Linked DNA regions of Homo sapiens: region 1 is linked to region 2. The links are contacts of gene promoters, found by promoter capture Hi-C in human tissues and cell types (Jung and others, 2019). All regions are on one chromosome and are shown on one strand. Each heading gives the region's core, a stretch centred on a gene start or on the middle of the fragment in contact. The rest is flanking DNA. Distances are from core to core; before and after follow the strand shown.

Region 1 (4,159 bases), core at 580-3,079, 300 kb before region 2:
CCAGCCTCACCAACATGGTGAAACCTCATCTCTACTAAAAATACAAAAACTAGCCAGGTGTGGTGATGCATGCCTATAATCCCAGCTACTTGGGAGGGTGAGGCAGGAGAATCGCTTGAACCCGGGAGATGGAGATTGCAGCGAGCAGAGATTATACCATTGCATTCCAGCCTGGGTGACAGAGTGAGACTCTGTCTCCAAAAAAAAAAAAAAAAAAAAAAGAAGTAGCCCTGGGACTTAGCGAATCAAATTTCCATTTCACCCCCAACTTGTTTCCCAATCATCCCAGCCTCCCTTCCTTAACCAGGTTTCACATACGTGGCTGGGTAGCACTCTGCATAACTGTTGGACATGCCAAAGAAATCTCCCAGCTGCTTTTTGTCTTCTGGCTTCTTCAGCATATGCTATGTTAAAGAAAACACTACACAGGATTCTACCTATTGCTGTAAAGCTTCAGCCAGGAGGGGGCCAAGGGCTAGAAGCCCCAACATGAAAATTCTGAGTGGGCTGTGAGCTGTTATGGGTGCTCTGGGAAGGAACAAGGGATGGTTTCATTCTGTCAAAATTCAGCGTAAAAGGGAAGGAGAGGGGCAGGGTAGGAGGGAGCAGGGAGGCAGGGGGGGTTGGAGTAAAGAGACCAGTTCTCTGGAACCCAGGAACGTATTAAAATAAAGGATATGATTCTGTGCCTTCCCAGCCAGCAGACCCAGCAAACTTTTCATTGATGGACTTGATCAACTCCTTGGTAGACCCAGGTCCTAGGAGAAAAGAGAACTCAGCCCAGACCTTGAACTGAGGCTCTCACAACCTCCTCCCCACAACACACTTAAAAAACATTTTTAAGGCATAGAACCCTTTTGTCTAACAAAGTTTTAAACAAACTCCAATTAATGAGTCACTCTGGTTGAGATGAGGGTAGGGTATCCAGAACATTCCATACTTGACCTCTACCTCACCTCCTCAGAACCCCAGGGCCACAGGAATTATATCTAAGAGCAAATATGCCCTGCCATGGCCCAGGAAGGTGGAGGGAACTCCACCTATTCAATAAAGCAAGACACAGTTCTTACAAGAACCCAGAACCAGGAGGTCCCCCAATCCCACCGTTGCCAGCTCTGAGCCCTACCAGGGGAAAGCAGGACTGCTAGAGCAACTGTGAGATGCTGTGTGTACAACTCACCTTTGTCAACGTCCATGGGCTGGAAAGAACACAAAATGTGAAGTTAGTGTTACCATGAGAGATTCCTACTCATCCCTCCCCCAAGTTTGAAACAATTCCTTACCCAACCTTGCTCACATTTCCAGAGAGGGGCAACTCCATCACCTGGTACTAAGGGCCCACATCTCACCTCATCATCTACTTTTGGCTTCTCAAAGTAGCTGTGTCTCTTCTTTTCCTCTTCTCTCTCTCGGTCCCGCTCTCGCTCTCGTTCCCGATCTCGTTCTCGCTCTCGCTCTCGGTCACGGTCTCTGTCTCTTTCCCGATCACGCTCCCGTTCCCGATATCTCTCCCGCTCCTTGTCCCGAGGTGTCTTGGTTGTGGAGGGTACGTAATCCCCAATGTCTTCAAAAATACTGGGAAAATGGAGATCACTAGCTGGCCAAATTCACACATACACCTTCACTCCCCCTGACCATTTCTCCAGATTCTCATGTCAGCACCTCCCCAAAATGCCAGACACAAGAAATGTACAGACCCCCTCCCTCTGATCAGATGCCAGGGGCTAGGATACATACTTCATGTCAGCCTCAGGAGGTTTCTTCTCTTCCAGCTTCCCTGAAATTTAAAGAGAGGAGTCAGGAACATACTCCTCAGTTAATTTCCACTGAACTTCACCATCCTCTCCAGCTCTTAATGCCCTTTTAAACATCTTCTGTTTAAAACGTGGGTCAAGGCTGGGTGCGGTGGCTCACGCCTGTAATCCCAGCACTTCGGGAGGCCAAGGCGGGCGGATCACTTGAGGTCAGGAGTTTGAGACCAGCCTGGCTAACATGGTGAAACCCCATCTCTACTAAAAGTACAAAAAAATTAGCCGGGTGTGATGGCAGGTGCCTGTAATCCCAGCTACTCAGGAGGCTGAGGCAAGAGAATTGCTTAAACCCAGGAGGCAGAGGTTGCAGTGAGCCGAGATGGCATCACTGCACTCCAGCCTGGGCGACAAAACGAGACTCGTCTCAAAATAAATAAATAAATAAAAATAATAAAATAAGGCCAGGAAGAGTGGCTCATGCCTGTAATCCCAGCACTTTGGGAGGCCGAGGTGGGCACATCATAAGGTCAGGAGTTCGAGGCCAGCCAGGCCAATACAGTGAAACCCCATCTCTACTGAAAATACAAAAATTAGCCAGGCGTGGTGATGCGTGCCTATAGTGCCTATAGTGCCTACTTGGGAGGCTGAGGCAGAAGAATCGCTTGACCCCGGGAGGCAGAGGTTGCAGTGAGCAGACATCGCACCACTGTACTCCAGCCTGGGTGACAGAGCGAGACTCCGTCTCAAAAAATAAATAAATAAAATAAAATAAAATGTCGGTCAAGTATTAGAGCCTTTTTAGAATCTGTCTAGGTTTTCTGGTTTTCACCAAAAAATCTCTTTTAAAAAAAATAAATAAATAGGACATAAGCTACCCACTCTCCATCCCTCATGCTTCAGACCTGACCACTGCTTCTTAGGTAGGTTAAGGAGACAGAATCTGGCTGTAACTGTCTCCTTGCCAATGCTCCAGTACTCCCATTTTTCTCTGCTTCCCAGGAGCCTCTCAATATTCTGGAGACAGAAAGCTCCAGGAGACCTTGGTTTTATCCCCAAACGTCCTCTGTGGGTAAGGCTTCTCTCTCTAACCCTCCAGGTACCTTTATCCTTCTTCTTAAGCTTCTTGTTACGGGTTCCCTGCCTCAGGTATGAAAGGATCTGGGTCAGCTTGCTAATGACAATGTCATTTGTGGTCAGTGTGGTCTGGGCCTGAAAATACCAAGAAACAAGAATGTTAAACCACTCAGCAGAAATCTCTTCATTTATTCATTCATTCACTTAACAAACTAAAGACTGAATTACAATACAGTAGGTGAAGGGAGGGAAACGAAGTGCTGTGAAAGGATATTCCAGAGATAAAACAGCCTGCACAAAAGCCCTGCATCAAAATGAATCAAGACCATTCAAGAAAGTCAGGAGTCTAGAACATTCTAGAAAGGCCAGATGTTGCAGAGGCTCAAAGTCATGGTAAAGATTTTGCTCTTTATCCTAAGAATGAGATACTACTAAAAGCTTCTAAACTGTAGTGAGACAAAAATTTACATTTTATTTATTTATTTGGAGACAGAGTCTCATTCTGTCGCCCAGGCTAGAATGCAGTGGCACGATCTTGGCTCACTGCAACCTCCACCTTCTGGGTTCAAGCAATTCTCATGCCTCAGCCTTCCGAGTAACTGGGATTACGGGCACATGCCGCCACGCCTGGCTAATTTTTAGTAGAGATCAGGTTTTACAATGTTGGCCCACCTGGTATTGAACTCCTAACCTCAAGTGATCCTCACACCTCAGCCTCCCAAAGTGCTGGGATTACAGGTGTGAGCCACTGCACCCAGCCAAACTGTATATTTTAGAAGGGTAGGGGAGGTAGGGGTGGTTAATAGGTACCAAAAAAATAGAAAGAATGAATAAGGCCTACTACATGATAGCACAACAGGGTGACTATAGGCAGTAATAATTTATACATTCTAAAACAACTAAAAGAGTATAAATGGATTGTTTGTAACACAAAAGATAAATGTTTAACGGGATGGATACCCCATTTTCCATGATGTGATTATTATGCATTATATGCCTGTATCAAAACATCTCATGTACCTCATAAATATATATACCTACTATATATCCACAAAAATTTTTAAAAAAATTCTCTTTAAAGGATGAATTATATGGCATGTGAATAACACCTCAATAACAAGATATAATAACAAATCAGAGTGGAAGTGCGGAAACCAGAGTGGAAGTGCGGAAACCAATTAGAAGCCTTTTTAATAGCTCCAGAGGACTGGCGCAGTGGCTCATGCCTGTAATCCCAGTACTTTGGGAGGCCAAGGCGGATGGATCACTTGAGGTCAGGAATAGCCTAGCCAACGTGGTAAAACCCAATCTCTACTAAAAATAAAAAAATTAAC
Region 2 (4,214 bases), core at 684-3,183:
CGCAGTCGAACAAAGGCTCCCAGTGGCTGTGCCAGGAAGCCCAGCTCCCCTGCCAGCACAGTCCCTGCCTCAGCTCCTGGAGGTAGCTTCTGTCTCAGGGGGTTCTGACACTGGATGGGGGTTCAAGGAGACACAGAATATGAAAGGTTATTTGGGGAGGATAAGATCTCAAATGATGAGAAATCCAGTGGAGAGTAGACTTTTGTTAATTTCTAACCCCTCTCCCAGCCACTGGAAAGGGACCCCAAGGAAGGGCCACAAACCTGTTCCCTCAGGGGGGCTTCCTCATTGTCAGAAGCCTTTCTTGGATGAGTAGAGCCTACAAAACAGGATTATGCAGTGATTAAGACCACAGGCTTTGGGGGTGGATCCACCAGGATTCCCTAATCACTTTTGCCACTGACAAGCTGTAAGAATTAGAGTATACCCTTCTCCACTCTGAGCCACAGTTTTCTCACCACTAAAATGGGGATAATTGTGGTACTATTTACAGGGTGGTTGTGAAGATCAAATGAGATACTGTGAAGATCAAATGGTAGGCCTAGTGCCTACCAAGTACATGTCTTCACAGAACTCTCTTACGATTCTAGCCCCCTGAATCTTCTCCCCACAACATTACCACCAGTTTCCTCTTGCTCATGAGTCCTGGGTTGGAGCCTGAACTAAGCCTGGGCTACTTCTAGCCCTGGAAGGTGCAGGGGAGATCTGAGACCCTGCCACACCAGGGTCTTGGTCCTGGGCCCAGGGAGGGGCTCTCACCCCAGCAGGGCCTGGTGCCTGTGGTCTGGTTGTAATGCTGGGGTCTCTGCAGCAGCAAGGCCTGCAACTGCCCTCTCAGCTCTGGGCTCAGCGACTCCACCCTGGTCACCTGCTCTGGAGAATGGATTGGGGGTCATCTCCTTCCTGAGAGTTCCCTGCCGCACACTCTTCCCCTTCTCCCTCTGCCCAGACACCTTTCCCTTCTGGGAGTCTCAGAATGCCAGGGCCAATGAACTTGCTCCTCCACCCTGCTTTTCCATGTCCACCCTGTGACAAGGGTAGACAATCCTAGGAGGGGTAGGGATGGGCTCTGGAAGATTTCAAGACTTTGGAGGGGAAATCCTGGGGAAAAGGCATGGCTACCCAGGCCCTTCCTGCAAAGGATCCCAGCCTACCCACGAGCTCCAGGAGGCTCTGAGCTGGGCAGTCCAGCAGTACAAGGCCCTCGGCCAGCAGGCTGCGGAGCTTCTGGAGGCTGGGCAGTGCCAGGGTGGGCACGTGGGGGGCACTCCACCGGCCTGCAGCCACCTCCAACTTCTCCTCAAACAGTACCCACCTGTGATGAAGGTGGGTAGACAGTGTTATTGAGGGCATTTCTCCCATGTCCAGGAGCAGAGATGCAGAGGAGCTAGGGAAGGCAAGGCAATGAGGGCATCCTGGGCCCAGTGGTGTGAAGTCTCCCCCCCACCCTGGCAGTCACCCCTCATCTAGGGTCTTGGGGATCTCAAAACTAGACTGCAGAGGAGGCTGGGCATCATGGAAGGTAAGACCCTGAAATAAGGGAACACAGCTGGGAAAATCCTAATTTTGGGCAGCCCCATAAGAAGCGCTGGGGGACATATAGGAGGCTCCAGCTGGGGAAGGGGAAGGATCCCACAGAACTGGCCTGCATCCAACTTACCTGCCTGTCTCTCTCCACTCCAGCGCCTGGGGCCAGCCCAGCAGCTCATTCAGCTGAATGAAGAGCAGAGGGTCTTTGGGTACTCCCAGTTCCTTGCTCTCTGTGTCTGAGGGGCCATCAGGGCTGGGGCCGGTGCCAGGGTCAGGGTTGCTGTCCAGCTCCCCTGAAGGAATATTTCTAGGAGCACTGGAGGCTTCAAACCCTTCCTGGCCTGGCAGCTTCATTTCCATGAGGCTTGCACAGAATCTCAGAACCAGTACAGTCCTAGGTTCTGAAGCCAGGGGCCCTCTGGCTGGTTGCATTTATAATGCATCCCCCACTGCAGCACAACACAAACAGAACAAGGCCTGCTGACTCCAGACTCTACCGGTCACCTACTCCCCTACTTGCTTACCCCACCCCCTGCTGGCATAAGAGTATTTGTAAGACTAGTCTGGCCTTTCCCAGGCTCTCCAGAAATGCCCAACCTGGGGCCAAAATGTGTATGTGCATTTCCTGTGGTATCAGGTCTGATCCCACTGTGTTTTGTGTAAAGAAACAGGAGTAAATGATTGGCTTGGGTCTGAGGACTTGGTACCCCCAGATTTTGCTGCCCCCCTCACTTGTATCAAATATAAATACCAAACACCCAGGACTGTTTTGGGTGTCACCAACACACCCCTGGGGCCACAGACACACCTATTTGGACAAACAGGGACCTAATAAATAATTGAGTCCATGGAAGCCAGACAGGGTAAGGGAGATAGCAGGCAGAGGACCTGCCCATTAAATGGGATAATGGTGGAAGACCTAGTGTCTGAGTCTTAAATTCTTTTCTTTTCTTTTTTTTTGAGACAGGGTCTCACTCTCTCACCCAGTCTGGAGTGTAGTGGCACAGTTATAGCTCACTGCACCTTTGACCTCCTAGCTCAAGTGATCCTCCCACCTCAGCCTCCAAGGTAGTTGGGACTACAGGTGCACGCCACCATGCCCAGCTAAGTCTTTTATTTTATTTTATTTTATTTTTGAGACGGAGTCTCGCTCTGTCGCCCAGGCTGGAGTGCAGTGGTGTGATCTCAGCTCACTGCAACCTTCACCTCTTGGGTTCAAGTGATTCTCCTGCCTCAGCCTCCCAAGTAGCTGAGATTACAGACATGTGCCACCAGGCCTGGCTGATTTTTATATTTTTAGTAGAGACAGGGTTTCACCATGTTGGCCAGGCTGGTCTCAAAAACTCCTGACCTCAGGTGATCCATCCGCCTCAGCCTCCCAAAGTGCTAGGATTACAAGCGTAAGCCACTGTGCCTGGCTGCCCAGCTAACGAGTCTTAAATTCTTTTGTCCAACAACACTTAGGAATTCCCTAATTTAGCTGTGTCCCTGGGATCTGCCCTGTGAGGATGGAGGAGCCCACTAGGGGGTGTAAGTGAAGGAGTTCCTGGAGCTAAATGAGCAAAGGAAAATGTGGTCCATTATTTGCAAATCCTGTTGACTCTATCTTCAAAATATACCCATAATCCAACCACATCTCCCCACCTCCAGCACTGCTACCCTGATTCAAACAACCATCATTTCTCACCTGAATTATTTCAGTAGCTTCCTGGTCTCTTGTAATAACCCCCCTGCTTCCACTCTTCCTCCCTTGCCCAAAGTCCATCCTCCACACCATACATGTCCTTTCAAAAGGCAGTTGAGCCACATTACTCTTCGGTTCAATACTCACCCAACACACTCCCATTACTCCTAGAAGAAGAAGAAAAAAAAATCAAGCTCCTTGTCGTGGCCTGCAAGATTCACACCCTGGCCCCAACCCACCTCTCTGACGGCATCTCACACCAGCCTCCCCTCGCTCACTCCTTTCTAACCACACTGGCCTTCACCTGTTCTGCAAAACCTGTTCCTGCCTGAGGATCTTTGCAGGATCTATTTTCTCTGTAAGGAAAGCCTTTCCCCCATATCCTTACATGACAATCTGTGACCTAGGTCTCATCTCAGACGTTAGCTACTCACGGAAATCTTCCTTTTCCATCCTATCCTAAGTTTCTTTCTTTTTTTTTTTTTTTTTTTTTTTTGAGACGGAGTCTCGCTCTGTTGCCCAGGCTGGAGTGCAGTGGCATGATCTCGGCTTACTGCAAGCTCCGCCTCCCGTGTTCACGCCATTCTCCTGCCTCAGCCTCCAGAGTAGCTGGGACTACAGGCGCCCGCCACCACGTCCGGCTAATTTCTTTCTTTTTTTTTTTTTTTTTTTTGTATTGGTAGAGACGGAGTTTCACCGTGTTAGCCAGTATGGTCTCGATCTCCTGAACTCGTGATCCACCCGCCTCGGCCTTCCAAAGTGCAGGGATTACAGGCGTGAGCACCGCGCCCGGCCCATCCTACCCTAAGTTTCTCTCTTGGGTCACTCTCCATCACATTTCTCTGTTTTATTTTCTTCCTAGCAGTTACCACTACTAGTAACTGCCTCATTTATGTATTTGTTTATCATTTATTGCCTGACTGTCCACGCACGCACACGCTGAAATGCACAGTCCGTGGAGCAGGTATCTGTCTTGGCCGCGGCGCCTAGAGCGGCGCCT

The links. The method cuts DNA at HindIII sites, captures the fragments that hold promoters and counts their contacts. A contact is called where the count stands out against the background at its distance.
Region 1: a fragment that was not itself captured here is called in contact with the fragment with the promoter of SLC4A9 in region 2 in 1 of the 25 tissues and cell types used here (thymus).

The regions. Positions count from the first base shown.
Region 1 is chr5:140,656,355-140,660,513 of GRCh38, reverse strand. IK (IK cytokine) reads right to left here. Exons shown (of 20, transcript NM_006083.4): 10 at 2,852-2,960; 11 at 1,738-1,777; 12 at 1,350-1,575; 13 at 1,181-1,199; 14 at 680-758; 15 at 319-399. Among named protein-coding and RNA genes, the nearest start is that of WDR55, 6.5 kb to the left of the region's middle. The HindIII fragment of the contact is 4,391 bases long and covers 1-4,024 here.
Region 2 is chr5:140,357,913-140,362,126 of GRCh38, reverse strand. It overlaps SLC4A9 (solute carrier family 4 member 9), which reads right to left and starts at 1,933. Exons shown (of 22, transcript NM_031467.3): 1 at 1,661-1,933; 2 at 1,155-1,315; 3 at 760-873; 4 at 264-319; 5 at 1-110. The coding sequence starts at 1,890. The HindIII fragment of the contact is 12,269 bases long and covers 1-4,214 here.